Regions from separate parts of the Homo sapiens genome. Here all the other regions are linked to region 1. The links are contacts of gene promoters, found by promoter capture Hi-C in blood cells and fetal thymus (Javierre and others, 2016). All regions are on one chromosome and are shown on one strand. The core of a region is centred on a gene start or on the middle of the fragment in contact, and the rest is flanking DNA. Distances in the headings are between cores, read along the strand shown.

Region 1 (8,000 bases), core at 1,830-4,329:
TATGCCCTGTTGGCCTCTGCCCTGCCAGGGATCAGGGAGGCTGAGGTGCCCTGTCAGCTAGAGAGCTGGAGCTCCTTCCTCTGGATAGTACATCTGGGTTGATACAAAGAGTGTCACCTCCCTTCATCCTCCAGGCCGAGGTGATCCAACTCAGTGGCTTTCAAAGTTTTCAGCCTAAGATCCACCACAGTAAGAAATCCATCTCATATAAATAACCCAGAACATACATACAGTTGCATAACTGAAACAAGGTTTCACGTAACTATAACTGTCCCTACTATATGTCAGGCCGTGATGTTTTCTACTTCATTCAAAACAAAAAATGCTAGCTTCAATTCCCTTAAATTGATTTTACTTCCCACTAATAAATTTTAACCTGCAATGTGAAAAGCACTCATCCAAGTCTCCCTACGGCTCCTTATACCTACCTCCAAGTCTCCCAGCAACAGTGAGTCTTTGGAAAGAAGTAAATCAGGCTGGCATGGTGGCTCATGCCGGTAATCCCAACACTTTGGGAGGCTTAGGTGGAAGGACTGCTTGAGACCAGGAGTTCGAGACCAGCCTGAGCAACATAGTGAGGCGCCCCCCGCCCCCCGGTCTCTCTTTAAAAAAAAATTTTAGCCTGGCATGGCCTGCAGTCCCAACTACTTGGGAAGCTGAGGCAGCAGGATTGGTTGAACCCAGGAGTTTGAGGCTGCAGTGAGCTATGATCACACCACTGCGCTCCATCCTGGGTCACAGTGTGAGACTCGATCTCTACTGGGGGGAAAACAAAGCCAGGCACGGTGGCTCACACCTGTAATCCCAGCACTTTGGGAGGCCGAGGCAGGCGGATCACCTGAGGTCAGGAGTTCCAGAAAAGCCTGGCCAATAAGGTGAAACCCCGTCTCTACTTAAAATACAAAAATTAGCCAGGCGTGGTGATGCACGCCTGTAATCCCAGCTACTCGGGAGGCTGAGGCAGAAGAATCACTTGAACCCAGAAGGCAGAGGTTGCAGTGAGCCGAGATCTTGCCACTGCACTCTAGTCTGGGCAACGGAACAAGACTCCATCTCAAAAAAAAAAAAAAAAAAAAAGTAAATCATATTATTTCCCTGCCTAAGACCTGTCAACTGCCACTGTCACATAAAATAAAACCCAAACTCCTTTCCATGAGCCACCTAAGGCCCTACATAATCTTGTCTCTGTCTTCCCCTCACCATCCAGGCTGGTAGCCACTTGCTGGGCCTCCAACAAGGCAAGCCCCAGTCCACCCCAGGTCCTTTGCACATCATCTATTCTCCCACAGGGATTTCCAAGGTTGCTCCTTTTTATTAAATATCATCACCGCCTGCAGGAGAGGATAGGTTCCCTGACCACCCTATTTTAAAAGCCTCCCCCAGCCTCCTCCCAGGCCCTACCACATCTCTGTTTTCTTTCCTTGGTGGGTCTCATCTTAATCTGGAACTACCTGGTCTATTTGCTCAGGTGTTGTTTGTCTTCTGCAATAGAACGTAAGCTCCATGAAGGCTTCTCAGTGCTTCAGTTTCCTCAACTATGAAATGCAGACAATCATACTTTACTTCATCAAAGCTGTTATGGGGAGCATTACTTTAAAAAAAAAATCCAGTGCTGGTTCTCTCAATACCTAGAACAGTGCCTGGCACGAAGTTGACACTCAATATAGTACAAAGAATACTTTATATTTAATCTTCTCATTAGCCCTATCAATAGAGATTTATCATCTTCAATTTGGAAATGACGAGACTGAGGTTCAGATATAAGCAACTCATCCAAGGTGGAATGAGGACAGAAACTTGGGTCTCGCTATGTCAAAGATCCTTATTCTTATTCTTAACCACTATACTGCACGGTTTTCTGATAAACGGCAGTATGGTTAAGTGGGTAAGAGCTTGGACCCGAGAACAAAACTGTGCAGGTTCAAATCCCACCACAGCTGCTTGGCATCTGTGACCCACCTGAGTTGTCTGGGTTTGGTATTCCTCCCTATTTTCATCCCTAAAGTAGGGAAACTAAGTACCGACCTCCAGACCCCTGCGGGGAAGGAGTAAGGACAGGACGCTAATAAACGTAACCTCTGGGAAGGTTTGTTATTACTTGACAACATGTTTTCTGCCAACGTAAGCGGGTAATGACGCTAAGCCACAAGTCAAACGCTGCAAGCAGGAGCGTCACCCGGTTTCTACTGAGCCGTCACCACAACCCTATGAGGTAGGAATTTCTATTATCTCTATTTCACAGATGAGGAAACTGTGGAGATCGCTAAGATCTCTTCTTTCCGCCTCCAAGCCCAAGGAATTCTAAAGCTAACCCAAAGGAACGACCTTGTTTGTTTACTGACACCTCCTCGGACCGAATGGTCAGGGCTGTATCCGGAACACAGAGTTGGCTCGGTAAACACTGAATGGTTGCCTGAATAAATGAATGAGGAATCCCTGGCCTCGCCGGGCAGAGGCTAATCCGGTTCAGCTGCGAAGTGGGGGCTCCGGCAGGCGCAGGTGCCCTCCCTGCCCATCGGGGCGGGCCGCCGATCCCGAGCCTCGCTGTCCAATGGGTTTCTGCTCCCTCGCGGGTGGTCAGGCCCCCCTTCTCACGCCCACCACGCAGTCCCTGCCGCGAGCCGCCACTACACCCGACGCGCGGACAGGTGTTTCTTCCGTAGGAGGCCTCCCAGGCCCGGATAGGGCAGGTCGGCTGGACCCTGAGTCACCGCCGCCAGCGTCGGCCGCGGCCTCCCCAACTCCCAGGTGTCAGGTCAAGGAAGTCAGAGTCCGGGGTCGGCCTGGAGCCGGCTGCCCCTCCTCCCCGCCCGAGTCCCGAGAGGCCTCCAGCTGCTAGGCACAGCGCGGCGCGGGCCTCCTTGGCCTACTCGGGAATCTAGCCCAGGCCCACGTCGTGAGTGCGGTCCGGCTCAAGCCCCAGCTCGGGCACTGCCAAGACGGGACTCACCTCTCCGCGGGGGCCGAGCGCGGACGGCGGCAACGGCCCAGTTACCCGCGGGCTGCAGAGACGGCGGCGGCCCGGCTCTCCTCTCAGGCGGCGGCCATGTTGCTGGTGGAGAAACTCCGGCGGACACGTGGGGGGGAGCGGGCCGGCCCCAGCGTTTCCTCTTACCCACAATGCCCCGCCCCGGTGCACGCGGCTCCGCCCCCTCCGCCGCGCCATTCATGCAGGCCGTGAGCCCCGCCCTGCAGCAGGGGGCGCTGATGGCACGCGCAAAACTGAGCCAGGAGTGTATGCAGCGGGGACAAAAAGACAGCAACCCTGGCAGCGGTGGGATTCGAACCCACGCCCCCGAAGAGACTGGAGCCTTAATCCAGCGCCTTAGACCGCTCGGCCACGCTACCCAGCTGCAATATGTTTATGCCAGAAAGCTACTTAATGCTTTTGCTTTTGCATTTAATCTGGACATTGCGAGGCGTTTTCGCTGAGGTTTTTTTTTTGCTTAACGTGTGTTCAAGGTGATCCCTATAGAATTATTTTAAAAAGCCGTGTTTTGGAAAATAAACACTTGCTCCAGTCTTTAGACCCAGGTTGGTTCCGAATAGGTATTAGAGCAAAACGCATTTTTAGAAACTTTACTCTGAGTTGGATGGTTAACCCGGAGACCCCTGGTTAACCCACAGGTAATCCATACGACCCGGATTGGGTGTCTCCGGGAGAAGAAATTGATCTGATCAGAAACATGCACCAGGGGATCTGACGGCCAAACCCTGGAGCTGGTCTGGGCAGTTGTCTCTGAAAAATTATGTTTAAATTTTTACTTACACAAATAACACGCGAATTATTGCAAAATATTTAAACTTTGCAGATAAGGTACAAATGCTCTTTGACCTTGACTCGCATCCTAGGCCCCTCCGCCGAGGTAACTAACCATTATTATCTGTTTAATATGAACTATGGTTTGAATGTGTCCCCCAAATTTCATGTGTTGGAAATTTAATCCCCAATGTGGCAGTATTGTGTGGTGGGCCCTTTAAGAGGTGATTAGATCATGAGGGTGGAGCCCTTATGAATGGATTAATCTCTTCATGGATTCATGGATTAATGGGTTAATGGATTAATGGGTTATCTTGGGAGGGGGACTGATGGCTTTATAAGAAGAGGGAGAGAGACCTTAGCTAGCAAGGGAGCAGCTCAGCACCCCCTCCATATGATGGCTTGTACTGCCTGGGAACTCTGCAGGTGTCCCCCACCAGCAAGAAGGCCCTCACCAGATGCACACTCTTGACCTTGGACTTCTCAGACTCCATAACTGTAAGAAATAACTTCCTTTTCTTTACAAATTACCCAGTTTCAGGTATTCTGTTATAAGCAACAGAAAATGGACTAAAACACTATATATCTTTCTAGATCTTTTGCTGTGAATTTATATGTTTATATCTATATGGATATATATAGATATAGCCATAGAAGATAGCTTTGTTTTTATTGTGTATGGATTTGAACACAAATATTGTCACATTATTCATATAGATCTGCAATTGGCTGTTATTTTTCACCAGACTGTATTTTAAAATACCTATCCGTGTGGATATGCAAAGATATTAAAAACAAAAATGCACAAAAATTACAAAGAAAAAAATTATCATCCATAGTGCCACCACCTGGCATTAAATTAATGACTTAGTATTGTGGCATTTTTTTCCTTTTCTTTTTTCTTTTCTTTTTTTTTTTTTTTTTTTTTTTTTTTTTTGATGTGGAGTCTCGCTCTTGCTGTCTAGGCTGGAGTGCAGTGGTGCGATCTCCGCTCACTGCAATCTCTGCCTCCTGGGTTCAAGCGTCTCTACTAAAAATACAAAAATTAGCCTGGCGTGGTGGCACATGCCTGTAATCCCAGCTACTCGGGAGGCTGAGGCGGGAGAGTTGCTTGAACCCGGGAGGCGGAGGTTGCAGCGAGCCGAGATCCCACCACTGCACTCTAGCCTGGGCGACAGTGAGAAACTCGGTCTCAAATAAATAAATAAATAAATAAATAAATAAATAAATAAATAAATAAAAAATAGATCACACTATTACAAATAGAAATTATTAGACCATTGCAAATAGAAATAAGTCCCCCTCCCATTCTCCCCTGTCTATAACTGTCATGAATTTGATGTGTATCTTTCCAATAATTTCTTACATTTTTACTATAAAATTTATGAATAATATCTAAAATGGTTATCTGTATGTTTTTCACTTATATAAATGTTAGCACATTGTACTGATATCCTAAAACTTGCTTTTCTCATTTCAACAGTATTATTATTATTATTATTTTAAGAGAGTGTTGCTCTGTCACCCAGGCTAGAGTACAGTGGTGCAATCATAGCTTACTGTAGCCTAGACCTCCCGGGCTCAAGCCATCCTCCCACCTCAGCTTCCCAAGTAGCCAAGATTACAGGCATGAGAGACTGTGCCAGGCCCAACATTATGTTTTTGAGGTCTGTTATGATGCCTATAGATCTAATTCATTCATTCCATGCCATGTACAACTTTTAAGTTGTTACTAAATTTTTGTCATTACACACAATATGGCAGGAAGTATCCTTGCACATGGCTCCTTGTCTTACGTATGGACATTTCTCTAGGGTATACACTAGAAATGAAATTGCTGGTCTATATTTATACTTTCCCTAGTATTATATAATAATAATATTAATAATAGGCTGGTCTCAGTGGCTCACTCCTATAATCCTAGCACTTTGGGAGACTGAGGTGGCAGGATTGCTTGACGCCAGGAGTTCAAGACCAGCCTAAGCAACATCGAGAAACCTTGTCTCTACCAAAAAACAAAAGAAAAGAAATTAGCCGGGCATGGTGGCATGTGCCTGTAGTCTCAGCTACTTGGGAGGCCGAGGTGGGAAGATCCTTTGAGCCAGGGAGGTCAAGTCTGCAGTGAGCCGAGATTCAGGTGCTGCACTCCAGCCTGGGTGAGAGAGTGAGACCCTCTCTATATAGATATAGATATGCATATATTTTTCCATTTTGCCAAATTATATGACTTTTGATGACTTTTTTTTTTTTTCTATTTCTTCCTGAGTCAACTTTGGCAAGTTGTCGTTTTCTGGGAAAACAAAGCCCCATTACTTGATTTTTCACATTTATTGGCGTAAGAAATCTCAAATATCCCTCATATCTAAGGTTTTGTCCTCTATCATTCTCTATCGTTTCTCTTTCCCTCTGTCATTTACGTGGATTACTTTCTCCATTAGTTCTGTTCAACACAGGGAGTGGAGTCAATGCTTAAGGTGACTGAATGGGGGAATTAGGCAGGAACTCTACGAACGCTGGTGATGCTTTAGACACATCAAAAACTATATAAATCACACTTTTATAAGTAGAATTCTCATTTTGCATTGACTGGTATTAGACTTTTCAGGGCCATGATTCAAGTTTCTGGCTAATATCCAGTTGGTACACACCCCTAACATTTGGGCATTTTATGTCTTTCCTCTTCAATCCCTCCTTAGCCTGGCTTTTCTCCCCCTCCATCCACCACCTTTTTTTTTTTTTTTTTTAGAGAGACGGGGTCTTGCTTTGTTGCCCAGGCTGGAGTACAGTGGTATGATCACAGCTCACTGCAGCCTTGACATCCTGGGCTCAAATGATCCTCCCATCTCAGCCTCCCAAGTAGCTGGGACTAGAGCCACGCGCCACCACACTGGGCTAACTTTTGTATTTTTGTAGAGACGGGGTCTTGCTTTGCTGCTTAGGCTGATCTCAAGCTATCCTCCCACCTCAGCCTCCCAAAGTGCTAGAATTACAGGAGTGAGCCACCACACCTGGCCATCCATCTACCTTTAACATATGTAATGATATGCAAAGATTTTCTTGTGCTAGAAAAGTTTGTTGCTCTTCAAGACATTAAAAAAAAATACAGAAGCAGCCATGGATTGAAGACAAAGGGTAGGCATTGTGGGGAGTTCAAAGCTGAATGAGGAATAACCCCTTTAAGTCAATAGGAGTGTTTGTCATGGTATTTTAGTACCAGGAAGGACTTTGTTTGTGAGTTGGGTACTGGATTTTCCAAAAGGAAATATCCTCACAGTCAAGGATAATTGCTGGCATCTTTGCCCAGTCTGATTTTTCTAGGAACTGCCTGACCAGCCAGAGAGTGGGTCCCTGGCAGCCACCTTTGTGCTGCACGCCCCACCCCCACAGCCATGGCTAGTGGGTTCTACCGTTCTTCAGTGGACGTAGGATTCAGGTTGGACCAATCAAATTCTCTCTTGAGAATGTGAACTGAGACTCCGTGAGTTACTGATTTTGTTTTTTTTTTGTTTGTTTGTTTGTTTTGAGACAGAGTCTCGATCCATTGCCTAGGCTGGAGTGCACTGGCGTGATCTCGGCTCACTGCAACCTCTGCCTCCCAAGTTCAAACAATTATCCTGCCTCAGCCTCCCAGGTAGTTGGGATTACAGATGCACGCCACCATGCCGGGCTAATTTTTTTGTGTTTTTATTAGAGATGGGGCTTCACCATGTTGGCTAGGCTGGTTTCGAACTCCTGACCTCAAGTGATCTGCCCACCTCAGCTTCCCAAAGTGTTAGGATTACAGGCGTGAGCCCCCGCACCCGGCCCGATTTGTTAATTTGACCGTGTTGCGTTGGAATTAGTCTCTGAGGCTGGCTAAAACTAGGAAGAAAGGGGGATTTCGCATGGCTATATTCTGTGAGGTGAGTTGGAGAGGTAGACAAAAGCCAGTGTATAGAAAAAGAGGGAATGAGAGAGTGAGAAGAGCAGAGTCAGGGAAATCCTGATGGTTTTCTGGCTTCCAGCTCCAGACCCTTTCCAAGGCCCAGTGGGTTGTCCACTCTTGGAGGCATCCCTTTATCACTGTAATAAATTCCCTTTCTCTGCTAAAGCCCAGTGCTACTTGGTAGTTGTCAACTGTAAACAATAACCCCCTCCCCCTTGCAAGGCAAAGGCTCAAATGAAGCTGTGTGTGTGTCTTTGTGTGTGTGTGTGTGTGTGTGTGTGTGTAGAATTTTTTTTTTTTTTTTTGAGACAAGTT
Region 2 (8,000 bases), core at 2,159-4,658, 1.1 Mb after region 1:
GTCTTAGACTCCTGACCTCAGGTGATCTGCCCACCTCAGCCTCCCACAGTTCTGGGATTACAGGTGTGAGCTACTGCACCTGGCCAAGAAACCAGTGTCTTCTGAAATGATATAATTTGTACTTCTCATGTAGTTGGCAAACAGGTACTGCTAAAATAGTTAAAATATAACTAGTCTATACAACTTATGATTTCATAGGTATTATAGGTCAGGTAAGAAATGCTGAGTAAAACAAAGGTGCTGGTAGAAGGTAAATATGGCAATAGTTCTGAAGATATTACGTATGACTAAATCTGGGCAGACATTGAATTTGACTCCAAGATGCATATGACTGACATCCCTCCCTGGTGCATACCTCCTAGCTGTGCATATGACCTGGACAACTACCAGACCACCTTCCATCCAGTCGGCTCCTCTGTGACCCATCCTGATCACTATCAGAGGTTTGACATGAAGGCTTTTGCCTTTGTATCAGAAGCCCACGTGCTCTCTAGCCTGGTAAGTGATTCAGAAGTCACCAGGGACAGGTTAAATGTTAGTGCATCGATTCCATGTAACTCTCTTCTGTCTCCAGGTCTACTTCCACTGCAGTGCCTTAATCTGTAATCGACTCTCCCCTGACTCCCCACTGTGTTCTGTGACCTGCCCTGTGTCCTCTAGGCACAGGCGAGGTAAAAACTTCAAATTCCTGTTTCTGTGAGTCTAATTCAAAGCAAGTATCAACTTTTTAGAATAGAAGATCTTAAGGACTGGTATAACTCATACTTTATTTACTGCCCAGAGCTCTTGTTGGCCCAGTCAAAACTTGGTCCAGTCTACCTTACTCATGTGACAGGTCTAAGATGAACAGTTTCTTGTCTAGTTCTATAGACGATGAGTTCTTTAAGAATCTATCCTTTTTTTTTTTTTTTTTTTTTTTTTTGAGACAGTTTTGCTCTTGTTGCCCAGGCTGGAGTAAGATGGTGTGATCTTGGCTCATTCCACCTCCAGGGTTCAAGGGAAATGATTCTCCTGCCTGAGCCTCCCAAGTAGCTGGGATTATAGGAACCCCCCCAACATACCCAGCTAACTTTTATATCTTTAGTAGAGACAGGGTTTCACCATGTTGGCCAGGCCAGGCTGGTCTCAATCTCCTGACCTCAGGTGATCCACCTACCTCGGCCTCCCAAAAGTGCTGGGATTATAGGCATGAGCCACCACACCCAACCCCAAGAATCCATCCCACTTCTACAGTAAAGGGCATAACCTCGCCTGCAAAGGCAAGACAAACCACATGAACAAAATACTCCAGAGAGCTTCTACTTCTAAGCATTCCATTGACACACCTCTCGAACCACTATTCCAGAGGCCAAACACAAACTTGATCATCTGTCTCCAGCCACAGGGGCCACTGAAGCAGAGAAAATGACAGTCAGCCTCCCAGGACCCATTCTCCTGTTGTCAGATGACTCCTCATTCAGAGGTATGGACCTAAAGCCTGGAGTACTTCCTGGATTCAAGTTCTTAGCTTTTTATGCCAAGCGGTCAGTGCTTACATATACTATGTACCCGTGGTGAGTCTAAACAATAGAAGAATAAAAGACTAAGTCTCTTCCCAGAAGTAGGCTTCTATTAAGTCTCCTGTGTACCCTTCTAGAAATCACTTCAACACAAGTAGGATCATAGCTTCTACCTACTGATCTAGAACTTGGTCTCTAATCTGTCTTATCTACCTTATATCTGTACAAAGAACCCTTAGGATTCCACGTGGCTCTACCTTAGTCATGATCCTCATTCATGGATATCTATAGGTTTATTTCTAGTTTTGTCCTCAGTCCATACTAGAATCCTTCTTTTTTTCTTTTTGAGATAAAGTTTTGTTCTTGTCACCCAGGCTGGAGTACAATGGTGTGATCTTGGCTCACTGCAACCTCTGCCTCCCAGGTTCAAGTGATTCTCCTGCCTCAGCCTCCCGAGTATCAGGGATTACAGGCACCTGCCACTGTGCCCAGCTAATTTTATTATTTTTAGTAGAGAAAAGGTTTTACCATGTTGGCCAGGCTGGTCTCAAACTCCTGACCTCAAGTGATCCGCCTGCCTCAGCCTCCCAAAGTGCTGGGATTACAGGTGTGAGCCACCACACCCGGCCACAAAAAAAAAAAAAAAAAATCCTCTTGAATTTCTTGTATAGTAGTCAAAGATTTAAGATATGTTTCTAGCAAGATTAGGTCAGAGCATGTGCATCTTAACATGCTATGGCCAAACTTAAGTGTGTATTAGTTTGTGCCTGTTAACACATACCCTTACCTGAGATAGCCTTAATGAACAACCTGTGGGATCACACCCTCAGGGGACAGCTAACCACATCGACTAGCATGAAGATGTTGTACTAAACTCTCAGGTTCTTCCCAGGTGTCGGCTCATCTGATCTAAAAGCAAGTGGGAGCAGTGGGGAGAAGAGTAGGAGTGAAACAGGGGAGGAGGTTGGCTCACGAGGTAAGTTTATTCAATGTTGCAAACTTCTGAAATAAGCCTGTTGAAGGCTTAGTTTTACCCCCTTCTCTGGGGAGCCTTATGTAAGGCTTCCACTTACCCTTATTTAAAAATACTTAAGACTCAAATGTCTGCTTCCTTTGTAGGTGCTATGGACACCAAAGGGCACAAGACTGCTGGAGATGTTGGTTCCAAAGCTGTGGCTGCTGTGGCTGCCTTTGCAGGTGTGGTGGCAACTCTAGGCTTCATCTACTACCTGTACGAGAAAAGGACTGTGTCAAATCACTAAATGGGCTTCTAAATAAAGCAGTCAAAATAAGCCTCTTGCCTTCCACATTCTTATTAAGATTAGATGACAAGGGATCATTTCTTTTGTTCCTCAGTGTAGAGGCAGTACCTAGCCACAATCCTCTGGGCAGGATTTGTATATAGATACAAATAGGGAAGTTCATGGTATAATTGTTTCCTGTCATTTGGCCCCTTCTGATCCTCTAACCCCAATACATGAGTCCTCTGACACTCCCAGTCAACAGTAGGGCTTTAGCTATAGCCCAGCTCTGGGGGTACACTTGAGTCTACAAGCTCTTACACAGGATAAGAAGCCAGCAAGCTACCCATGATCACTGGCATAAATCCAACCCCCCTTCTTTTAAGGGAAGGGAAACCAGATGTTCCTAAGAAAGTAATATAAGAACTTACTTCAAGGTAATTCCTAACTCAAGTTACACTCAAGCTTACAACTTTCCTGAGCTTAAAAGGACTTAGTTACCTTCCCACTTATAACTAAAGACAAGCAATCTTTCTTTGGTAGGGAAAGGAATACTAAAGTGCCAGAGTCCTAAGGCTCAGTTATAACATTCCAAGAATCAGACTCCACCATTCAACTGAGCCTAGAGTGAGTTTTCCATTACCTGCATTCGATCTTGACCGTCTCCTGAGGCCTTCGTCCTGAGGGTAGCCAGTCTTATTCTAAGTAATTATGTCATCAACATGACTAGTGTCTGCTTTATACTGCAGCTCTTAGAGACCTTCAAGATATATGGAAATTCACTTGTATTCTAGAAAACTTGAGTCTAAAATTTTTGCAAGGAAATATTTCAAATCTACGTATGGCAGGAAGAATAAGTGATGAAAGCTTCTAGTGGCTGGATTTAAATGTCAGCTCAGTCATTATACTCTTGGGTTTTTCAAAAATCTAACCTTGAGGTTGAATATCGTGATGTCTATCTGGTCATCTTGTGGTTTTCTATAGGTGCAATCTCGGCTTATTGCAACCTTCGCCTCCTGGGTTCAAGTGACTCTCCTGCCTCAGCCTCCTCAGTAGCTGGGATTGCAGGCACCTGCCACCAAGCCCAGCTAATTTTTGTATTTTTAGTAGAGATGGTGTTTCACCATGTTGGCCAGGCTTGTCTCAAACTCCTGACCTCAGGTCATCTGCCTGCCTCGGCCTCCCAAAGTGTTGGGATTACAGGCATGAGACACCGTGCCCGGCACCTGTTCTAGAATTCTGCCACACAGACTTAAAAGGTAGCTTTCTAAATCCTTTGGTTAGGTCTTACAGATAAGACTCTGATGTAGGGAAAGAACCACACCTACCTTATGTAGAGGGTCTGGCATTTCTAGAGTAATAGGGTCAAAAGCTCAAATTGTCTCATCAAAAGCCTTCTTTGGACCTTCTTTTAAGGATCCAAGGCATTCTGCTAAATAGTTTTAGATTCAAAATTCTGTGTGACTTTATCAAGTTGCATTGTATATCATAACTAAATCTCACGTACCATGCTTTTTAATGGCATTTTTAAAAATGGCCACTTAAATGACTTCCTGACCCTGAATGACACCTACCCCCGACCCATGTCTAGGAATTACATCCTAATCCCTAGAGCCTGTGAATATTAGTTTTACATGGCAACATGGACTCTGCAGATGTGACTAAGGGTCTTGACATGGTAAGATCATCCCGGTGGGCCCAATCACAAGTGTCCCTATAAAACAAGAAGGTCAGCAGGGCACGGTGGCTCATGCCGGTGATCCCAGCACTTTGGGAGGCTGAGGCATGTGGATCACCTGAGGTCAGGAGTGCGAGACCAGCCTGGCCAACATGGTGAAACACCATCTCTACTAAAAATACAAAAAATTAGCCGGGCATGGTGGCGGGCGCCTGTAATCCCAGATACATGGGAGGCTGAGGCAGGAGAATTGCTTGAACTCGGGAGTTGGAGGTTGCAGTGAGCCGAGATTGCGACATTGCACTCCAGCCTGAGCAAGAAGAGTGAAACTCTGTCTCAAAATAAAAACAAGGTCAGAATAGGATGTATCAATGGAAGCAGAAATTGGAATGATAGAGAGTCACAGAAAACACAGGCCGCCTCTAGTAGGGGAACAAGAAAATATCTTCCCATAGAGCCTCTAGAAAGAGTACAGCTCTGCTGTACCACTTTAGACTTCTGACCTCCAGAATTGTGAGATAGCTTAACGGCATGAAACAAACTTGTTACAGCAACAATAGGAAATTAAAATACTGAGTCACTACCCACAACTTGAAAAACATGGCTTAAAAGTGCACATTTTACAGATGAGCAACTTGAGCCCTAAAGAAGCTTGTCCAGGATGTCACAGCCCCTTGATTTCAGAGCTAGAGCCTCTCAGCTGCAAGTTGGTCCACTTGTATAGAGTCATATTGGGAATCAAAGTCCCCTGGGTCTCAAGGCAGCCCACAGCGTGACTTGGTTCTGATGTGTTTGCCAAAAATGCTAAAGCAGAACTTTGAGAGTGGAAAGCCAAGCTGGTGTGGAGCAGCTGCCGGGATGAACACTTGTTGCCATGGTAGCCTGGGAGCAGTTGACTAAAGTCGTGTTCTTGCCTTCTGAAAGTAGGCATCCTACTATATATGGGGGAGGCAGCCTCCTCAGACAGGAACTGTGTGGGAAGAGAGTCGAGCTTAAATCCTGAGAGACTGCTGCTTCAACCACGTTAGTGTGCTTGCAATCTCCTTTATCACGTAGTGATGGGCTGTAATTGTCATACAGGTGTCAAGAGTAGAATGATGGAGCTTTGGGGTTCTAATAGTTTGAGCAGTTCTGATTGATGGTGGAGGTTGCAGGAGTTGAAAACAGACTTGTGTGCCCTGGGAAGGCACCTGTAATGTAATGTACTACTTTCCCCTGCCCTGTTCTGCATTAGGAAGTTCTGTGGGATGCGCAGGCTCTAGAGCAAGAGTTGGGTTTGGGTTCGGGATCTACGTCTCCCTGGCTGTGTGGCCTCGGGCAGATAGAACAATCTCTGAGCCTGCTTCCGCATCTGTAAAAAGGGAACACAACCTAATTTGGAAGCGTGTGAGGGTTCAACAAGATAACCGTTGTATTGATGTAGGCACTGCCCAGTCAGCATTGGAGTATCTCAACATCAAGAAAATAGCACTGTTCTAACTCTAAATAAAAACTCAGATAACATTATGGACAATAACTGTGACTTGAATAAGTCTGTGTGCTATATACCAAGGCATATGTAATCAAGTGCATATGTGGTAGAATGTACACCTGATTGTACAGACCTCTGGCCTAGACACCATCTACCAAACTAAAATCTTTAGGGAGACACCACCTACAAAACTAGACACTATCAGCTGGGCATGGTGGCTCACTCCTGTAATCCCAGCACTTTGGGAGGCTGAGGCAGGCGGATCACCTGAGGTCAGGAGTTTGAGACCAGCCTGGTCAACATGGTGAAACACCGTTTCTACTAAAAATACAAAAAATTAGGTGGGCATGGTGGCAGGTGCCTGTAATCCCAGCTATTTGGGAGGTTGAGGCAGGAGAATCACGAACCCAGGAGGTGGAAGTTGTAGTTAGCCAAGATTATGCCACTGCACTCCAGCCTGGACGACAGAGGTAGACTCCATTTCAAAACAAAACAAAAAACAAAAACTTAGACACCATCTACTAAACTAGAATCTTTAGGGAGTGGAGTCTAAGCATGTTTAGGCTCTATAGGAGGCTAAATCATGGCCCCAAAGATATTCACGTGCTAACCTCTGGGACTTGTGAATTTTCCCTAATATGGCAAAAGGGACTTTGCAGTCATAATTAAGGTAAAACGGTGAGATGGGGAAATTATCTAAATTATCCAGGTAGGCCATACATATAACTGCATGTGTGCTTGTAAGAGGGAGTTTTGACTATGGGGAGAAAGCAGTACAATGATGGAAGCAGAGGTTGGAGTGATGCACTTTGAGATGGAGAAAGGGCTATAAGCCATGGGATACAGGGGAACACTAGAGGCTGGAAAATGCAAGGAAATGGATCCTCCCCTAGATCCTCCAGAAGGAACCAGCTCCACCGACACCTTGGCTTTAGTCCAGTGAAAGTGATTTCAAACTTCTGACCTTCAGAATTGTAGCAGAATAAATCTATGTTGTTTTAACCCACTAAACTTGTAATAATTTGTCTAAGCAGTGAAAGAAAACTAATCCATGCTCCTCAGATGACTCTGACACATATCCCTGGATAGAAATCACTGTGCTAGTGAAGGCAGAGCCTACCACACTTCATCACAGACAACACATTACAAACACACACTGTTGCTTGCACATAGGATCTAAAAGCATGGGGAGCAGTTTATAGCTTCAGGAACTTGGCACTTAAGTTGCAACTAGTTCCATTTCCAAACAGTGATGTATCGTAGTTGAAAGAAGAGGCATTGCTGAGAATACAGGTCCTGAGACAGGGGTGAGAAAAGAAAAGAACTTTGATCTGAGAAATATAAGTCCTTCTAAACTATCAGGGCCAGAGACAGTAAGATGAGATAGTCAGCTGGGTGCCGTGGGTCACACCTGTAATCCCAACACTTCGGGAGGCCAAGGTGGGCAGATCACGAGGTCAAGAGATCGAGACCATCCTGACAACATGGTGAAACCCTGTCTCTACTAAAAATACAAAAATTAGCTGGGCATGGTGGCGCACACCTGTAGTCCCAGCTACTCAGGAGGCTGAGACAGGAGAATTGCTTGAACCTGGGAGGCAGAGGTTGCAGTGAGCCAAGATCATGTCACTGCACTCCAGCCTGGCAACAGAGTGAGACTCCATCTCAAAAGAAAAAAAAAAAGGAAAAAAGATGAGACAGTCATCACATCCTACTCCTCCCTTGAGCTAAGTATCCATCTCTTGAAACTGCTTACTATTGCCACAAGTAGCTTTAAGTTAACCTAATAATGCTGCACCAGACATATAACCACACCCTATAGCTTAACAATGTATAGCCAATCACACATCAATGTTATTTCTGAAAAACAATGAGAATTCCTGACAAAGAACTGTGCATCAGCTCACTCCCTGTCCCCCCTTTTTTGCCTTTAGAAATCCACTTGTAAATGCTGCTAATAGGAGTCTATAACTCATGTCAACTTGAATCCATGCTCCGGGGTTGCAATCCTCAAACTTGGCCCCAAAAAACTCTCTACTTTTAATTCTGCCTCAGTTTCTCCCTTTTAAGTCAACAGGGAATTTAGTTTCTCTCCCATTGGATGCAAAGAT
Region 3 (8,000 bases), core at 2,749-5,248, 1.0 Mb after region 1:
GTCCACTACAGTATCCATGTTAAAAGGGCCATTAAGGATCAGCTAGTCGATCTTCAACTTACGGATGGGGAAACTGAGGTGCAGAGATACTTTCTCCAGGCCCCCTGAATCACTAGCAGAACCGTGTTGTCCTTGTCCTGCCAAAGGCCCTGTCCAAATCCCACTCCGACCCTAGCCTCACCCCACCCCTTCGCTTTTTGCTACTCCAAGGCTGGTTTTCAGATAAGTCAGCAGCAAAGCATGGCTCTGTTTTCCTGACCATACTCCTCCTGGGAAGGACTCATGCTCCAGATGGTTTAGCCAAAAGTTTATCATATTTGCCAGACTGTCTGGACAGGGGTCTTTGTGCTGAAACAAAATACCCACATTACCCACATGATCTGATTCTGCATATCTCAAGTGACTATGGAGTCTTTCTGAGGAATCCTGATGGTCACTACCCTAAAGGATATATAGAGAAGAGCATGGAATGATGAGAATATTCATATATCTTTTCTTTCATTCTTTTCGCAAGAGCCCCTATCATAACCCTGTGCTAGCTTACTAAGATACAACAGAAAAGTAGTCCTCAGCCCCAGAGAACACAGCCTCGAAGAGAAGACAGATGTTAAAAAAAAAAAATTACAATAATTTGGTGTTACAGGAACATGGTTCAGGGTCCCTGCAGGAAATGCAGATGTTCCTTGACTTATGATGCAGTCGTGTCCCAATAAATTCATCAAAAGTTGGAAATATGTGGCCGAACATGGTGGGTCATGCCTGTAATCCCAGCACTTTGGGAGGCCAAGGCAGGCGGATCACCTGAGGTCAGGAGTCCGAGACCAGCCTGGGCAATATGGTGAAACCCCGTCTATACTAAAAATACAAAACTTAGCTGGGTGTGGTGGTGCACACCTGTAGTCCCAGCTACTCAGGAGGCTGAGGCAGGAGAATCACTTGAACCCAGGAGGCAGAGGCTGCAGTGAGCCGAGATTGTGCCAGTGCACTCCAGCCTGGTTGACAGAGCAAGACCCTGTCTCAAAAAAAGTTGGAAATGTGTCAAAAATGCATAGAAAACACCTACCAAACATGATAGCTTAGCCTTGCCTACCTTAAATGTGCTCAGAACACTTACATTTGCCTACATTTGGGCAAAATCATCTGGTAACACGGTACACTGTTCACTGTCAATTGATTATCCTGGTGATCACATGGCTGATTGGAAGCTGTGGCTCGCTGCCTCTGCCCAGCATCCTGAGAGAATATCTTACCAGTTTCTACTGAATGCGTATCATTTTCACACCATCGTAAAGTCAAAAAATCTTAAGTTGAACGATTGTAAGTGGGGAACTGTCTGTAGATGCCACACTCAAAAGGTGTGATTGAAGAGAATAAAGAGACTGTTTAGGAAGAAGCACCCCAGGGTTAGCAATAGTAGGAAATCACTACCACTGCTAAGCTTGAAAGAGCAGTTAGTGAAACCCAGAAACAACTAGAGCTATAGCAGAGGGCTGCCAGATGGGAGAGGTGAGCTTAGATGAAGGCAGCTGCTGCCCTGAAAAGAAGAAACAGGTAGAATAAATGCCTCAATCTTTCTTTCTCCCACCTTCTGGTATCTTGTTAGTAACTCCCATTGGCCAGACCCAACCAGGATCCCAAGGGCAAGGGAGCCCTTTGATGCAGTCCAGAGCCCAACCACCTGGGACACAAAGTAGGTTGGAAAATAGTAGAGAGAAGTTCTGGAGAGGCAAACAAAGAGAGCTTGCACAGATAGGAAGCTACTCAACCCAGACTAGGGGCAAAGAGAGAGGGTATGTCTCCCAGTGAGGATGGCTATATGGAGGAAGACTTTTCCAGGCAGAAGGGTGATGGTATGCTAAGGCACAGGCATATGAGAGACATGTATTCAGGAAGCCACAAGAAATCTAGTATAGCTGAAATTAGGGGACAGGGAGAGGAGTGGTCAGAGATGGGACCAGAGGTTTGGAGGAGAGAATAGGGCTCTTTAATCATGCAGGCCTTCTGTGTGGTGGTGAGAGTTTGAAAAGCAATGGTGGCTGAGCCCAGTGGCTCACGCCTGTAATCCCAGCACTTTGGGAGGCTGAGGCAGGTGGATCACCTGAGGTCGGGAGTTCGAGACCAGCCTGACCAACATGGAGAAACCCTGTCTCTACTAAAAATACAACATTAGCCAGGCTTGGTGGCACATGCCTGTAATTCCAGCTACTTGGGAGGCTGAGGCAGGAGAATCACTTGAACCCAGGAGGCTGAGGTTGCGGTGAGCTGAGATCGTGCTATTGCACTCCAGCCTGGGCAACAAGAGCAAAACTGCGTCTTAAAAAAAAAAAAAAAAAAAAAGCAACAGTAAAGTAGAAAGTGACAAGAGACTTACATATTAAAAAGATTACGTGACTCAACCAGCCTTGTGGAGAATGAATTAAAGACAGATAAGGATACTTACAGCAATCCAGTGAGTGATGGTTGGGGGCAGGAACCAATAGGTCATCTTGCAAACATCAAAGAGGATTTAGCTCTGAGACATATTGAAAAGTTGAAAGGGCCTGGTGACCAATTGGGTGATGAAAAGAAGTATTGGGTTAAATTTTCCATTTATGAAAAATGAAGATTTAGAGCTGCATGTTTTAATGCAGCTGAAACTGAGCACGATCACTATTTGGGTCTCGATAATTCATTGTGGTGGTGGGCTGTCCTGTACATTCTAGGATGTTTAGCACCCATTGTTTCTACCCACTGGATGTCAGTTGCACCACTGTTCCCCTATCATGGCAATCAAAAAATGTCTCTAGATATTGCCACATGTCCTCTAGGAGACAGAGGGCAAAATCATCCAAGTTGAGAACTGACAACCTGGAAGAAAATGGGTTCAGTCCTGGACACACTGAGTATGGGGTACTTGTGAGACATGTGAGAGGAGATGTCAGATTAGATTTGGGCTTAAGTATTTGGTGCCCAAAGCAATGGTCTGGGCTGGTAACTTGGACTTAGGAATTCTGAGCATATAACTGACCTGTACTACACAATGGCCTGAAATATAAGCACAATACACATTTACCACACTATAACTTCTCAAACTCTCCTCTTCGGTGAAATGCTCCCAGCTGCTTTTCCCTCTTGTTGACTTTTATGTCAAGCTACATAGAGGGGGAAAAGAGGGGCCAGGAGGTGGTAGGGGTGACCAGATATTGGATTGAGCTACTCTAAGCATCTAGTTTAAGAGATGGAGGTCTGAGATCAGTGAGTACTTGAAGCTCATCCTGGCTCATAATCCTCTTGTCTTTGTCTCTTATCAAGGCCTTTGTATTGCTCTGGCATCTTCTCTTAGCCCCTGTAGTTGGTATTTAGTTCGAAAGATCTGGAATTCTTAGAACATTGATAACATCTTATAACATGGTATAAACCTTTTTTTATTATATAACAATACTCTGTGACGAAGAGACTATATCCTTGATGCTGAGAACTTTGGAGAACGCTCACCTATTAATTCTGTCAATCATAAAAGAAAAGAACCCCTAAGAAGAGCATAGAGGTACCTGATGAGACCCCTAGTGGCAAATATCTCCTAAAAAGGGATGAGAGTCAATGTTCAAGTTCATTTCTACCAACCTGAGTGATGGCTCTCTTGCTATGATGTAGTTACAGCAGGGGGTGGAGCAAATATCTCATTAGGCAGATTCCGGGCAATAGGTGAAGAGGGGATTCTGGCATCTATGATGATGAAATATAATAGTGGCAGGCACAGACTACAAACTTTTTTGAGCACTTTCTATTTGCCAACTGCTTCTGTGCACGTTAATGAAGGAAAGCACAACTTCAGTTTATTCCACAAGATAAGGTATTTGTAAACAATCATCCCCTAATGCAACGTGTTTATTCAATGGCTAACAAGCTTTCTGAATATATTCATTGAGGAAGAATAAGCCAATTGTTCATCAGATTTGAGCATCTGTATCCTCCCTAAACTTGAATCCTCCATGATGCCTCTTGAAGTAACCCAAACAGATGTGCATCAGAAAGCAAGCTGAAGATAAACAGCTGTTTCTGTATTATACCCAGAATCAACAGTAAATTCCACTTGATGTAAGTCAGCCTGTAGAGATCTAATGAAGCTTAGCTCTTCAGTGGGGTTTCAGTTTGAATTTGGGATTGCCATTGAAAAAATGTCAGCAGCAGTGTTGTCAGTTTCTTTTTTCTTTTTTTTTTTTTTTTTTTTTGAGATGGAGTCTCTCTTACCGCCTGGGCTAGAGTGCAGTGGTGCAATCTCAACTCACTGCAACCTCCACCTTTTGGGTTCAAGCAATTCTCTTGCCTCAGCCTCCCAAGTAGCTGGGATTACAGGCACACGCCACCACACCTGGCTAATTTTTGTATTTTTAGTAGAGACGGGTTTCCGCCATGTTGGCCAGGCTGGTCTTGAACTCCTGACCTCAGGTGATCTGCCTGCCTGGGCCTCCCAAAGTGCTGGGATTACAGGCATGAGCCAAGTGTTGTCAGTTTCTATCGTGGAACCTACACATATTCAGATATGCGGCAATGGTGACAGACAACAGTAAATAAACCATGTGTACATAATAAGCATGAAAATGTGAAATTTCCTTTGACAATCAAATCTTCCCTCCAAAGAACTTAGTTTTTTTTCCCCTTAAGTTTCACTAGGTGTTTACCCTTACAAAACTCATCAATTGCAGTTGGACAGACTTTTTTTCTGTATTTTTCTTGGTCTCCTCCCCAACCCTCTTACTTAGGACAGTATTATTCTGCTAGGACTGCCATAACAAAATGCCACAGACTGGATGGCTTCAACAACAGCAGTTTATCAACCGAAGTTTATTTTCTCACACCTTTGGGGGCTGAAAGCCCAAGATCAAGGTGATTGCAGGGTTGGTTTCTCCTGAGGCCCCCTCCTCGGCTTGCAGACGGCCACCTTCTCACTGTGTCCTCACGTGGCCTCTCTGTGTGCCTTCCACCTAAGTGTCTCTTCCTCTTCTTAGGACACCAGTCCTAGGCCAGGTGCAGTGGCTCATGCCTGTAATCCCAGCACTCTGGGAGGCCGAGGCAGGTGGATCACCTGAGGTCAGGAGTTTGAGACCAGCCTGGCCAACATGGTGAAACCCCGCCTCTACTAAAAATACAAAAACTTAGCCAGGCGTTGTGGTGCACGCCTGTAATCCCAGCTACTCAGGAGGCTGAGGCATGAAAAGTGCTCGAACCTGGGAGGCGGGGGTTGCAGTGAGCTGAGATCACGCCACTGCACTCCAGCATGAGTGACAGAGCAAGGCTCCATCTCAAAAAAAAAAAAAAAAAGGGAAAAAAAGGACACCAGTCCTACAGGATTAGGGTTGCATTCTTATGACTTCATTTAACCTTAATCACTTCTTTAAAGGTCTTATTTCCAATTACAGTCACATTAGGGGTTAGAGCTCCAACATATGAATTTGACGCAATTCAGTCCACAACAGGTACCACCTGTATTCTATCTCTTTCTTCACTCTCCCCACCACCACTCTGTCTCTATTCTCAGGCAGGAGTATTATAGACGCATTTCCATTACTTGTAAACATGTACACATTTGTTAAAGGGTTAGATGCATTTAAGTTGGGCATCAAGCCGCAGGCCAGGAAAGAACTCTAGTCTCTACCACTAGGCAAAGTCATAGATCTCAGGAGAGAAAAAGAATTGGAATTCCCAGGTTACACAGATCGGAAAGCAAGCAGCAGGATAATGTGATGAGATTATAATTTTAAATCCAGAGATAGAAAAGTAAAGGAAGTTTCTTTCATTTTCCTGTCATGCATATGACCCTTTCTTTATTCAAAAGTATCAAAAAGATAGGCTGGGTACGGTGGTTCACACCTGTAATCCCAGTGCTTTAGGAGGCTGAGGTGGGAGGATTGCTTGAGGCCAGGAGTTTGAGACCAGCCTGGGCAATGTGGCAAGACCCCACCTCTACTAAAACATACAAAATAAGCCAGGTGTGGGGGGTGTGAACCTGTAGTCTCAGCTACTTGGGAGGCTGAGGTGGGAGGAGATCATTTGAGCCCAGGAGGTTGAGAATACAGTGAACTATGATCATACCACTGCACCCTAGCCTGGGTAAGAGACTGAGACCTTCATCTCCAAAAAACAAAACAAAACAAAACAAAACAACCACAAAAACAATTATATGTACATATAAGATAACTGAAGAGAAATGCCAGATTCTTGTTATGAAGTCTCCTCAAGTTTCTCATGGAGATTTATTTGGATGGGCATAGCCTACCTCCCAGAGTAAAGTTTGGGTCTCTCTCTCAGGTAGGCATTTCCGATGCCCTAGAATCCATTCCCAGTGGTCTGGCATTGGGTAAAGAGGGGGTGCCGCCTGGAGTGCTGCCAGCGGGCCACAGCATCACCCCAATGCTCCAGGCCAAAACTCTCCATCACAGGCTGGTGTCGACCAGCTGCCCAGGCTGTTGAAGCACCTGCTTCCTCCTGTTGATAGCATTCAGAACTTTCTTCCTGGGACCCAGCTGCATTTGTATGCTCTGAAGGTCCTCATCAGAGCAGAGCAGCAGAGCTTCTAGATCAATCTGCTCTCTCTTGAAGATAGGCAGGAATTCTTCCAGGTGCTGAGACAGCAAGAACACTTCCAGGGGCGTGGCATCGACCACATCTTCCTCCCACTCCACTTCATCGTCATCCCACGGCAGATCATCTTTGAGGCCGTTTTCCTCTCCCTCTTCATCAGCTGCACCCTCATCAGCCTCTGATGCTCCTTGTCTTTGAAGCAATTCACTGGGCAGTTTAAAACCAAACTCTCTCTTGCTATCTGAGATGTCTTCAGGACTCGATATCCTGTTCCTTCTAAAAACAATACTTCCTAGACCTGGACGATTGAGAATGGATTCATGGTGCACACTGCCGTCCTCCTCTGCTGACAACTGGAGCTTCTCTTTGAAGTCCCCTGAGAACGAGTCTTCCTCTTCCTCTCTGAACACTTCCATCACGTTCCTCTGCCCACTTCTGCCTTCCTTCCCCACCTGTTCTGCTGTATCTTTGTTCTTCTTGAACTTGATCTTGAAAGTGTCTTTAATGCCCTTAGATAGTGACCCGAATGTGCCAGGAGCAGAAGCATTTGAAGGGGATGATCTGGAGAAGGTACCCTTGGAAGAAGAGAGAGTCCCGGATTCCTCCTTGCTGTAGGTGTGGGCCATCTTATTTTGGTGCTTCTCCTGGAGCCTCTCACACTCTTTGATCTGCCTCCTGGCATTCTTCTGAGCCTGCTCCTTCAGCCTGGTGACCTTCTTGGGGTTCATGATGTTCTGTGCAGTGGCAGCCTTGTCCAGGAGAGCAACACATTCATTCTGCTCCCTGCTGGCAGCAGCATCCAGTGGAGTCTGTAAGTCATTATCCAGGGCAAAGATGTTGGCACCAAAGTTGACCAGGAATGAGACGCAGTGGGCATGGCCATTGGAGGCTGCAAAATGTAGAGGAGTGTTTCCCCAGATGTCACACCTATCAGGGTCCCCTCTAGAAGAGAGAGAGAGAAAAAAAATACATGTTGGACTTTTTTTCTCTGAACGCAGGCCCAAAAAAATCAAAACAAAAATAAAGAACAAAAGGCACGTTAATACAAACATGTTCATCCTGACTTGACATTGTTATAAGATACTGGCTGCAAGTCCAACTGTCTTAGAACCATCCCATCTTAAAACCACATGGCCAGAAACAGAGCCCATCTCTACCGTGTGTCTCCTTTTTGTTTGTTTCCTTTGTTTTGTTTTGAGACAGGTTCTCACTCTATCTCCCAGGCTGGAGTGGAATGGTGTGATCACAGCTCATTGGCAGCCTTGACCTCCCAGGCTCAGGTGATTCTCCCTGCTCAGCCTCCTGAGTAGCTGAGACTACAGGCATGCACCATGACACCTAGCTAATTTTTTGTAGAGACAGGGTTTCACCATGTTGCCCAGGCTGGTCGCAAACTCCTGGCCTCAAGCCATCTGCTTGCCTTGGCGTCCCAAATTGTT
Region 4 (8,000 bases), core at 3,269-5,768, 1.0 Mb after region 1:
CTCCAGAGCCAGGGAAAACGGTCCAAAACTGGGACTGCAGACTACTCCTGCTTCAAGACCACGACCACTCCTGTGCCAGGGAGGGAGAGGGGCAAGGGCGTGTAAAATCATCACAAAACTATCCACTGTTTTGAAGTGACTTTTTTATTGGTTCAGTATTCATTTGGTTGCTATAAACTTTTGATTGTTTTCCATAGTCCTGACAAAATTGGTTCAGACAGTTTCTGCTAATTTTTGAAGCTTTTGTGAGATGGTAATGAGAAGTTATGCGTATTCTACCTTTTTGCTGACAAATTGTTCTCCAGTTTCCCGTATATTGATACTTAGTTACTATTTCCCTCTGCTTTGTGGTTAGTTTCCTTTGGCAGGTGAGGGACAGGAATTTTCATCAATTGAAGTATTTTGATATTCTTCTGTTTCCTTCTTATGGCATATTAAATTGATTATCTGAACCAACAATAACAAGTGATTTAATGGATGAATGGTAATATTTTGATTAGTTTGTAAGCTTCTTAGTACATATTCATCTTCTTCTATTAATACAGTGAAGTGCAGTTTCTTTAACAAATAGAACTTTTTCTAAGGGAATGAAGCGACTCAATTCTGTGATTCTTGCTAATATCTGTATGAAGTTAAATTATGCTGGACATGTCCTTATTTCTCTTTGCTACCCTAATTCTAAAGGGCACTTCTATTTTCTAAGTTGCTTCTCTCTAACCTCCAAATTAATATCTCTCAAGATTAACATTTATAGCTTTGCACATTTTCAAGCCTCTTTATTTATTTCCCCCTATAACCAGGATTTTGATTGACTAGGTCTAGTTCTCAGAGATTTTTTTCAGTATTTCCCAGCTCATGATGGATCTACCGCTGTTGCCACTGTGTTCCGTATTCTCTTTTCTGCAGAATCCTCACCTGCTCTCTATGAGAGATTCCCTTGTTCACTGTCTCCTGTAGCACTCAGATTTGCTTTTCCCTTGGTGCATCCAAAGTGGGTGTTTCAATCTACGCTGTCTTTTAGAATGCACAGTTTTCACAACCTTCTTCCTACTGGGATAGAGTTAAGAGGTTATAGGGATTTTATTTGTCTGTTTGCTAGGTATCAAATAATCACAAGCTTTTACAGGTTAGGGCCATGACCACTAATTGAAATGACTATCCTTTCTCATTTGAATTACTTTGGCACCTCATCTGAAATCAACTGACTATACATGTATGAATCTATTTTTGGACTCTGTATCTTATTCTATCTATCTATCTATCTATCTATCTATCTTCTATCTACTTACCTATCCATCTATTCATTCATCCATCCATCCGTTCATCCATCAATCCATCCATCCATCCATCCATGCATTTATCTTCTCTGTCTCTACTCATGCTAATACCACACTGTCTTAATTATCGTAGTTTTATAATAAGGTTTCAAATAAGTTGGTGCAAAGTCTTGCAATTAAAAAAGTATAGTTTGGGATAATAAAGTTCTTTTGAATCCAAAATCAATTGGCCATACATGTGTGAATCTATTTTTGAACTCTGTATCTTATTCTATCTATCTATCTATCCATCCATCCATCTGTCATCTATGTCTCTACTTATGTTAATACCACATTGTCTTAATTACTGTAGTTTTATAATAAGTTTTAAAATGAGTTGTCACAAAATCTTGCAATTAAGAAAATATATATTTTTGGATAATGAAGTTCTTTTGAATTTCCATATAAATTTTAGAATCAGCTAAATTTCTACCAAAAATAAAAAGCCTCTAGGATGTTGATTGAGATTGTTTTGAGCGTATAAATCAATTTGGGGACAATTGACAATTTAAAAATATTGAGTCTTCTGATCCATGAATAAGGTATATTTCTCCATTATCTCAAGTCATCTTTAATTTTTCTCAGCAATGTTTTCAGTCTTCAGTGTACAGGTACTGCACATCTTTTTTAAAATTTTCCCTAAATGTTTTATGTATTTCATGCTACCACAATGGTATTGCCTTGAAAATGATATTAGCAATAGATATTTCTAGATTTCCTTACTCAAAGTGAAGATGTTTCATTCTAGTCCTCCTTTGCTGAAAAGTCTCTTTTTTGGTAGATCATTCATTTTTATTGCTGAGGGTATTCCATTGTATGAATAATTCACAGTTTGATTACCCATTCACATGTTGATGGACATTGGGTTATTTTCAATTTTTGGCCTTTATAATTAAAGCTATTTATGAATGTTTGCATACAAGTGTTTCTATGTTCATATGCTTTCATTTCTCTTAAGTAAAACTTCTAGAAGAAGACATCCAATCAAGCTTTTGTGACTCTGTATTGGGCAAAGTTTTTTAGATATAGCACTAAAAGCACAATTCACTAAAAAATGATAAATTTAACTTCACCACAATTAAAAACGTTTGGTTCTTAAAAGATGCTTTGAAAAAAATAAAAGGCCATAGTCTGGGACAAAATATTTGCAAATGGCTTACTACACAAAGGGCTGATATTCAGAACGTACAAAGAATTCTCAAAACCCAATAGTAAGAAAAAAGACCAATTCAACAATAAATGAAAGAAAAGTTCACCGGTCACTTCACCAAAGATGATACACATGTGGCAAATAAGCACATGCAAAGATGTTGAGAAGTTTCATCATAAAAGGGTGTTAAATTTTTTCAAGTGCTTTCCCCTCTATTGAGATTAATGTATAATACAATATAGATACTAATCACAGAGATTCTTTCCCACAGAGAAAATGCATTATGCACATAAGCTTTGAATCTTAGTGCTATCTTGTACAAATTTTGTGGTGTTGAGCAAGTTTTTACATTGTGTAAGGTTTAGTTTTTTCAAAATGAGGATAACATATAACTTGAGTTATTGTCAAGATTCACAGTAATGTAGGTAGAATTATTCACATGTAATAAGTAATTGACTACCAGTAGCTCTGATGAGATTTGTAGAGCCTCAGATACTCACTTTCTGTACTGTAATTTATGGAGTTAGGAATACTTTTCAACAGGAACACAACATATTCACCTCTTGGATATCATAGTATTTGCTGATGCTCATCCCAAGGTTATAAATGGGTACCAGCAGGAATGAATCAAGCAGAAAGTTTTTAAAAGTATTATTCCAATCTGCAATGAAAAAGATAATGTTAGCATGCTTTATATGAAATGAACTGTCCCAGGATAACAAAAGTCTCCCAAGTTGATAAAATTAAACAGAGAAAATTAAAAGCTGTAACATTATTCTCACAAACCCTCCGTTTTTAGCATAAAGTATACTACCCCTGATTTCTTGAAACATAGTTTGTGTTGATAATTACAGCTTTGGAAAATCCTTTTGGGAAAGCTGATGTCCATATCATCTGTCTTCCTGTCATCTCATGCGAACAAGAAACCAATGCTGATTATTTCTCATACCGTTTATTTTATATAACCAATGAAAAAGCAAAGATGTGATAGGAAATGTAGCCTAGGACTCAACAGTGGAAAGAGGATAAGGAATATATCATCAGTTGAAAGGACATACATCCTCAGAGAAACAAACTTGATGCTGAGATTCCTCTAAATACTAAATTAAATATGTATAACAGTTTATGAATATATATGAGTAAATAAGAAACATGTTTAAGAGGTAAGGCTCTGAACTGTCACTGTAAGACTTCAAGACTGAGTTCAAATTACTGGAAAAAAAGATGAAATTATAAGTCTGAGCAAAAAGCATATTTGTAAGATGCTTTTGTGGCCAGAATTGGTTCCCTCCCGTGGGTTCTTGGTCTCGCTGACTTCAAGAAAGAAGCCACGGACCCTTGCGGTGAGTGTTACAATTCTTAAAGATGGTGTGTCCAGAGTTGTTCCTTCAGATGTTCAGATGTGTCCCGAGTTTCTTCCTTCCAGTGGGTTTGTGGTCTTGCTGACCTCAGGAGAGAAGCTGCAGACCTTTGTAGTGAGTGTTACAGCTCTTAAAGGTGGCACATCCAGGTTGTTTGTCCCTCCCGGTGGGTTCGTGGTCTCACTGACTTAAGGAATGAAGCCTACAACCTTCGTGGTTAGTGTTACAGTTCACAAAGGTAGTGTGGACCCAAACAGTGAGCAGCAGCAAGACTTATTGTGAACAGCAAAAGAAAAAAGTTCCCACAGCATGGAAGGGGATCCGACATTGCCACTGCTGGCTCTGGTGGCCAGCTTTTATTCCCTTATTTGGCCCCACCCACATCCTGCTGATTGGTCCATTTTACAGAACACTGATTGGTCCATTTTACAGAGTGCTGATTGGTCCATTTTACAGAGTGCTGATTGGTCCATTTTACAGAGTGCTGATTGGTCCATTTACAATCCTTTAGCTAGACACAGAGTGCTGATTGGTGCAATTTTACAGAGTGCTGATTGGTGTGTTTACAATCCTTTAGCTAGACACAAAAGTTCTCCAAGTCCCCACTCCACCCAGAAGCCCAGCTGGCAATCAGTACTCTGTAAAATGGACCAATCGGCACTCTGTAAATGGGCCAATCAGCGCTCTGTAAAATGGGCCAATCAGCAGGATGTGGGCAGGGCCAAATAAGGGAATAAAAGCCGGGCACCTGTGCCAGCAGCCCAGCTGGCTTCAACTCTCACTTTGACAGAAGAGAGGGTGTCACCTGAGTGAGGAGGTAGAGGGTAAGTTTGCACCTAATATGTAAATTCTTATGACATTCTTATGACAAAATGGTAGAAGTATGTCTTTCCCTATCAGTGATTACATTAAATATAAATAGATTACTGCTCCAATTAAAGGATAGAGATTGGCAGAATGGATTTTAACAAGCATGATCCAACCATATGCTACCTACAACAGATTCAATTTAAATTTAAAGGCACAAATAAAAGTTTAAAAGACAGAAAAATATATTCAATGCAAACGGTAACCAAAAGAGAGCTGGAATGATTCTACTAATGTCAGACAAAATAGGCTTTAAGATAAAAACGGTTATAAGAGATGAAGGACATTATATACTATTAAATGGGTTAATTCATGAAGAAGATACAACAGTAACAAACATATATGGTCCTAACAACACAGCCCTAAAATATATGAAGCAAAAACTGACAGATTTAAGGGCTTTCAACAATAGTAGTTGGAGATGTCAATACCCCACTTTAAATAATTATAGAACAACTACATTGATCAAACAAATATAAGATATGAACAACAAAATAAACCACCTGACCTAAAGGTATATATAAAATACTCTACCCAACAATAACAAAATACACATTTTTTTCTCAAGTGTACATAAAAAAATTATCCAGGACAGACCATTAATTAGGCCACAAAACAAGTCTTAATAAATTATAAAAAACTGAAATAATATGAAGCATCTTATTATGACTGCAATGGAACAAAATTAGAAATCAGTAACAGAAGGAAATCTGAAAATACACAAATATGTGTAAATTAGACAATACAAACTTAAGCAACAAATGAGTCAGATAAAAAATCATAAGGGAAATTAGAAAATACTTTGACATGAATGAAAACAAAAATATGGTATACCAAAACTTATAAGAAAAGCAGTTTAGTTTTTTCACATTTATTCTTACATTTAAAACTATTTCAAATAAATAATCTAGTCTTCCACCTTAAAAACTGGAAAAAGAAGAGCAAACCAAACCCAAAGCCGGTGGAAGGCAGGAAATAATAAAGACTAAAACAGAGATAAATAGAGAATGTAAAAACAACAGGCCAGGGAAAATATACAATCCCTTTAAAGAATCAACACAAATCAAAGACCTTTATATTGACTGACCAAAATAAGAAAGAAGCCTCAAATTATTAAAATCAGGAAACTAAGAGAAGACATTACTACCAATCTTACAAAAATTAAAAAACATTACAAGAGAATACTATGAACAAATGTAGGGCAATTGATAACCTAGATGAAAAGGACACAATTCATAACCTAGATGAAAAGGACACATTTCTAGAAACACACAAACTACAAAACTAACTCAAGAACAAGTAAAATATCTGAATAGACCTATAATAAGATATTTAATTAGTAACTAAAAACCTCTCAGCAAAGAAAAGGTTGGGATAAGATGGCTTCAATGGTGAATTCCACCAAACATCTAAAGAATAATTTACATTGGTCCTCCTGTTTGGTTTTTAAATAAACAACCAATTGTCCTATTCTCTGACACCCCAACTGGGTGTCCTACAATTGAATTCAATTCTAGCACTACAAAGTATTTTCGAATTTCCCTTGTGATTTTTTATTTGACTCATTTGTTGCTTAAGCTTATAAGTTAGCACAGACTCCATGGGTTAAAGAACCAATCCCACAAGATTGCACCCGCTTTAGACACAGCCACAAATAGGGAATACAGGGTACCTGCACTTCTGCCTGGATAACTACAAATGTTAGGACTCCCACAATTGTTCCTCTGGTTTGATAATGTGCTAAAAACAACTCACAGAACTAAGGAAAGTGCTACATTTACAATTACAGTTTATTACAAAAGAACAGGCAAATGAAGAAGTGCACAGGGCAAGGGGCATGGGACACAGAGCTTCTGTGCCCTCTCCAGTGTGCCACCCTCCCAGCACACCGATGGGTTCACCAACCCAGAAGCTCTCCAGATCTCATTGTTCAAGAGTTTGTATCAAGACTTCATTATGTAATCATGATTGGTTAAAGCAATGGCCTTTGGTGACTGAACTCAATCTCCTGTCTCCTTCCCTCCTGGAGATCAGGGGTGAGGATGTGGGCTGAAAGTTTCAATCCTCATCACATGGTTGATTCCTCTGGCAACCAGCACCTATCCTCAAGCTATCTAAGGGCCTTCCTGGGGTCACTTTATTAGCATAAACTCACGTATGGTCAAGTTTTGAATAAGAAAAGATATTCCATTCATTCCAGAAATTCCAAGGACTGTGGGAGCTCTGTGCCAGGAACAAGGGATGAAGACCAAATACATATTTCTGTTATATCATACCTTCTCAAACTCTACCAAAAAATAGGTCTTATGGTTGTTTGGAAAACAATTTCCTCTCTAACAAAGAGTAAAGGCTTTTCTATTTGAAATCTTTGAATTATCACTTTGAGTAAATGAATGACTATTATTTTACAGTGACCAGTGATTCTATTTTGATGAAGTGTTTTAAGCCTTTAGTATTTGACATACTTCCAAAAATCAAATTTCAAATTCTAAAATTAAGTATTTTCCTTTTTTTTTTTTTTGAGACGGAGTCTCGCTCTGTCGCCCAGGCTGGAGTGCAGTGGCGTGATCTTGGCTCACTGCAAACTCCGCCTCCTGGGTTCACGCCATTCTCCTGCCTCAGCCTCCCTAGTAGCTGGGACTACAGGCGCCCACCACCACGCCCAGCTAATTTTTTGTATTTTTAGTAGAGATGGGGTTTCACCGTGTTAGCCAGGATGGTCTCCATCTCCTGACCTCATGATCCACCCGCCTTGGCCTCCCAAAGTGCTGGGATTACAGGAGTGAGCCACTGCGCCCGGCCTAAAATTAAGTATCTTCCAAAAGGAACTCCTAGATGTCCAAGAGAGACATAGTAGGCTTATTTAATATGTTAAAATTATATAGGAAACACTGGCAAATAAGAAATGGTGCTTGACTTTCTTTGAGTCATATTTACATAAAAGTGTTATTAAAGTATGTTCCAAAATTGTAAGAAATTCCTACAATTCTGATATGTCTTGGTATATGTTATCGGTAATCATTACAATGATGTTAAATTGTATGCCACAGAAATAATCAAATATCCTTGTCAATTATGTCTTTAGGCTGGGTGCGGTGGCTCATGCCTGTAATTCCAGCAATTTGGGAGGCCGAGGCGGGTGGGTCACCTGAGGTCAGGAGTTCAAGACCAGGCTGGCCAACATGGCAAAATCCTCTACTAAAAATACAAAAAAAAAAAAAAAAAATTAGCTGGGCGTGGTGGCCGGCGCCTGTAATCCCAGCTACTTGGGAGGCTGAGGCAAGAGAATTGCTTGAACCCAGGAGG

What was found. Contacts are between HindIII fragments. The CHiCAGO score rates a contact against its expected background, and 5 or more counts as called.
Region 2: a fragment that was not itself captured here is called in contact with the fragment with the promoter of POLR3E in region 1 in 1 of 17 cell types (erythroblasts); the score reaches 7.8 in erythroblasts.
Region 3: a fragment that was not itself captured here is called in contact with the fragment with the promoter of POLR3E in region 1 in 1 of 17 cell types (erythroblasts); the score reaches 6.6 in erythroblasts.
Region 4: a contact is called between a fragment that was not itself captured here and the fragment with the promoter of POLR3E in region 1, in 1 of 17 cell types (erythroblasts). The highest score is 5.9, in erythroblasts.

Annotation. Positions count from the first base shown.
Region 1 is chr16:22,292,488-22,300,487 of GRCh38, reverse strand. POLR3E (RNA polymerase III subunit E) reads right to left here and starts at 3,079. Exons shown (of 21, transcript NM_018119.4): 1 at 2,951-3,079. TRL-AAG2-4 (tRNA-Leu (anticodon AAG) 2-4) reads right to left here and starts at 3,348; the gene lies at 3,267-3,348. RefSeq lists silencers at 1,859-1,998, 3,009-3,458 and enhancers at 2,209-2,348, 2,791-3,335. The HindIII fragment of the contact is 19,375 bases long and covers 1-8,000 here.
Region 2 is chr16:21,192,241-21,200,240 of GRCh38, reverse strand. It overlaps ZP2 (zona pellucida glycoprotein 2), which reads left to right. Exons shown (of 19, transcript NM_001376232.1): 15 at 363-498; 16 at 575-671; 17 at 1,379-1,462; 18 at 2,392-2,475; 19 at 2,619-2,791. The coding sequence ends at 2,761. Among named protein-coding and RNA genes, the nearest start is that of ZP2, 15 kb to the left of the region's middle. RefSeq lists an enhancer at 5,087-5,236. The HindIII fragment of the contact is 402 bases long and covers 3,208-3,609 here.
Region 3 is chr16:21,249,234-21,257,233 of GRCh38, reverse strand. ANKS4B (ankyrin repeat and sterile alpha motif domain containing 4B) reads right to left here. Exons shown (of 2, transcript NM_145865.3): 2 at 3,384-7,503. The coding sequence ends at 6,414. Among named protein-coding and RNA genes, the nearest start is that of ANKS4B, 20 kb to the right of the region's middle. The HindIII fragment of the contact is 220 bases long and covers 3,889-4,108 here.
Region 4 is chr16:21,286,305-21,294,304 of GRCh38, reverse strand. LOC105371125 (a long non-coding RNA gene) reads right to left here and starts at 3,835. Exons shown (of 3, transcript XR_950905.3): 1 at 3,803-3,835; 2 at 2,967-3,127; 3 at 346-1,050. It also overlaps a transcript of CRYM not described here. The HindIII fragment of the contact is 3,512 bases long and covers 2,763-6,274 here.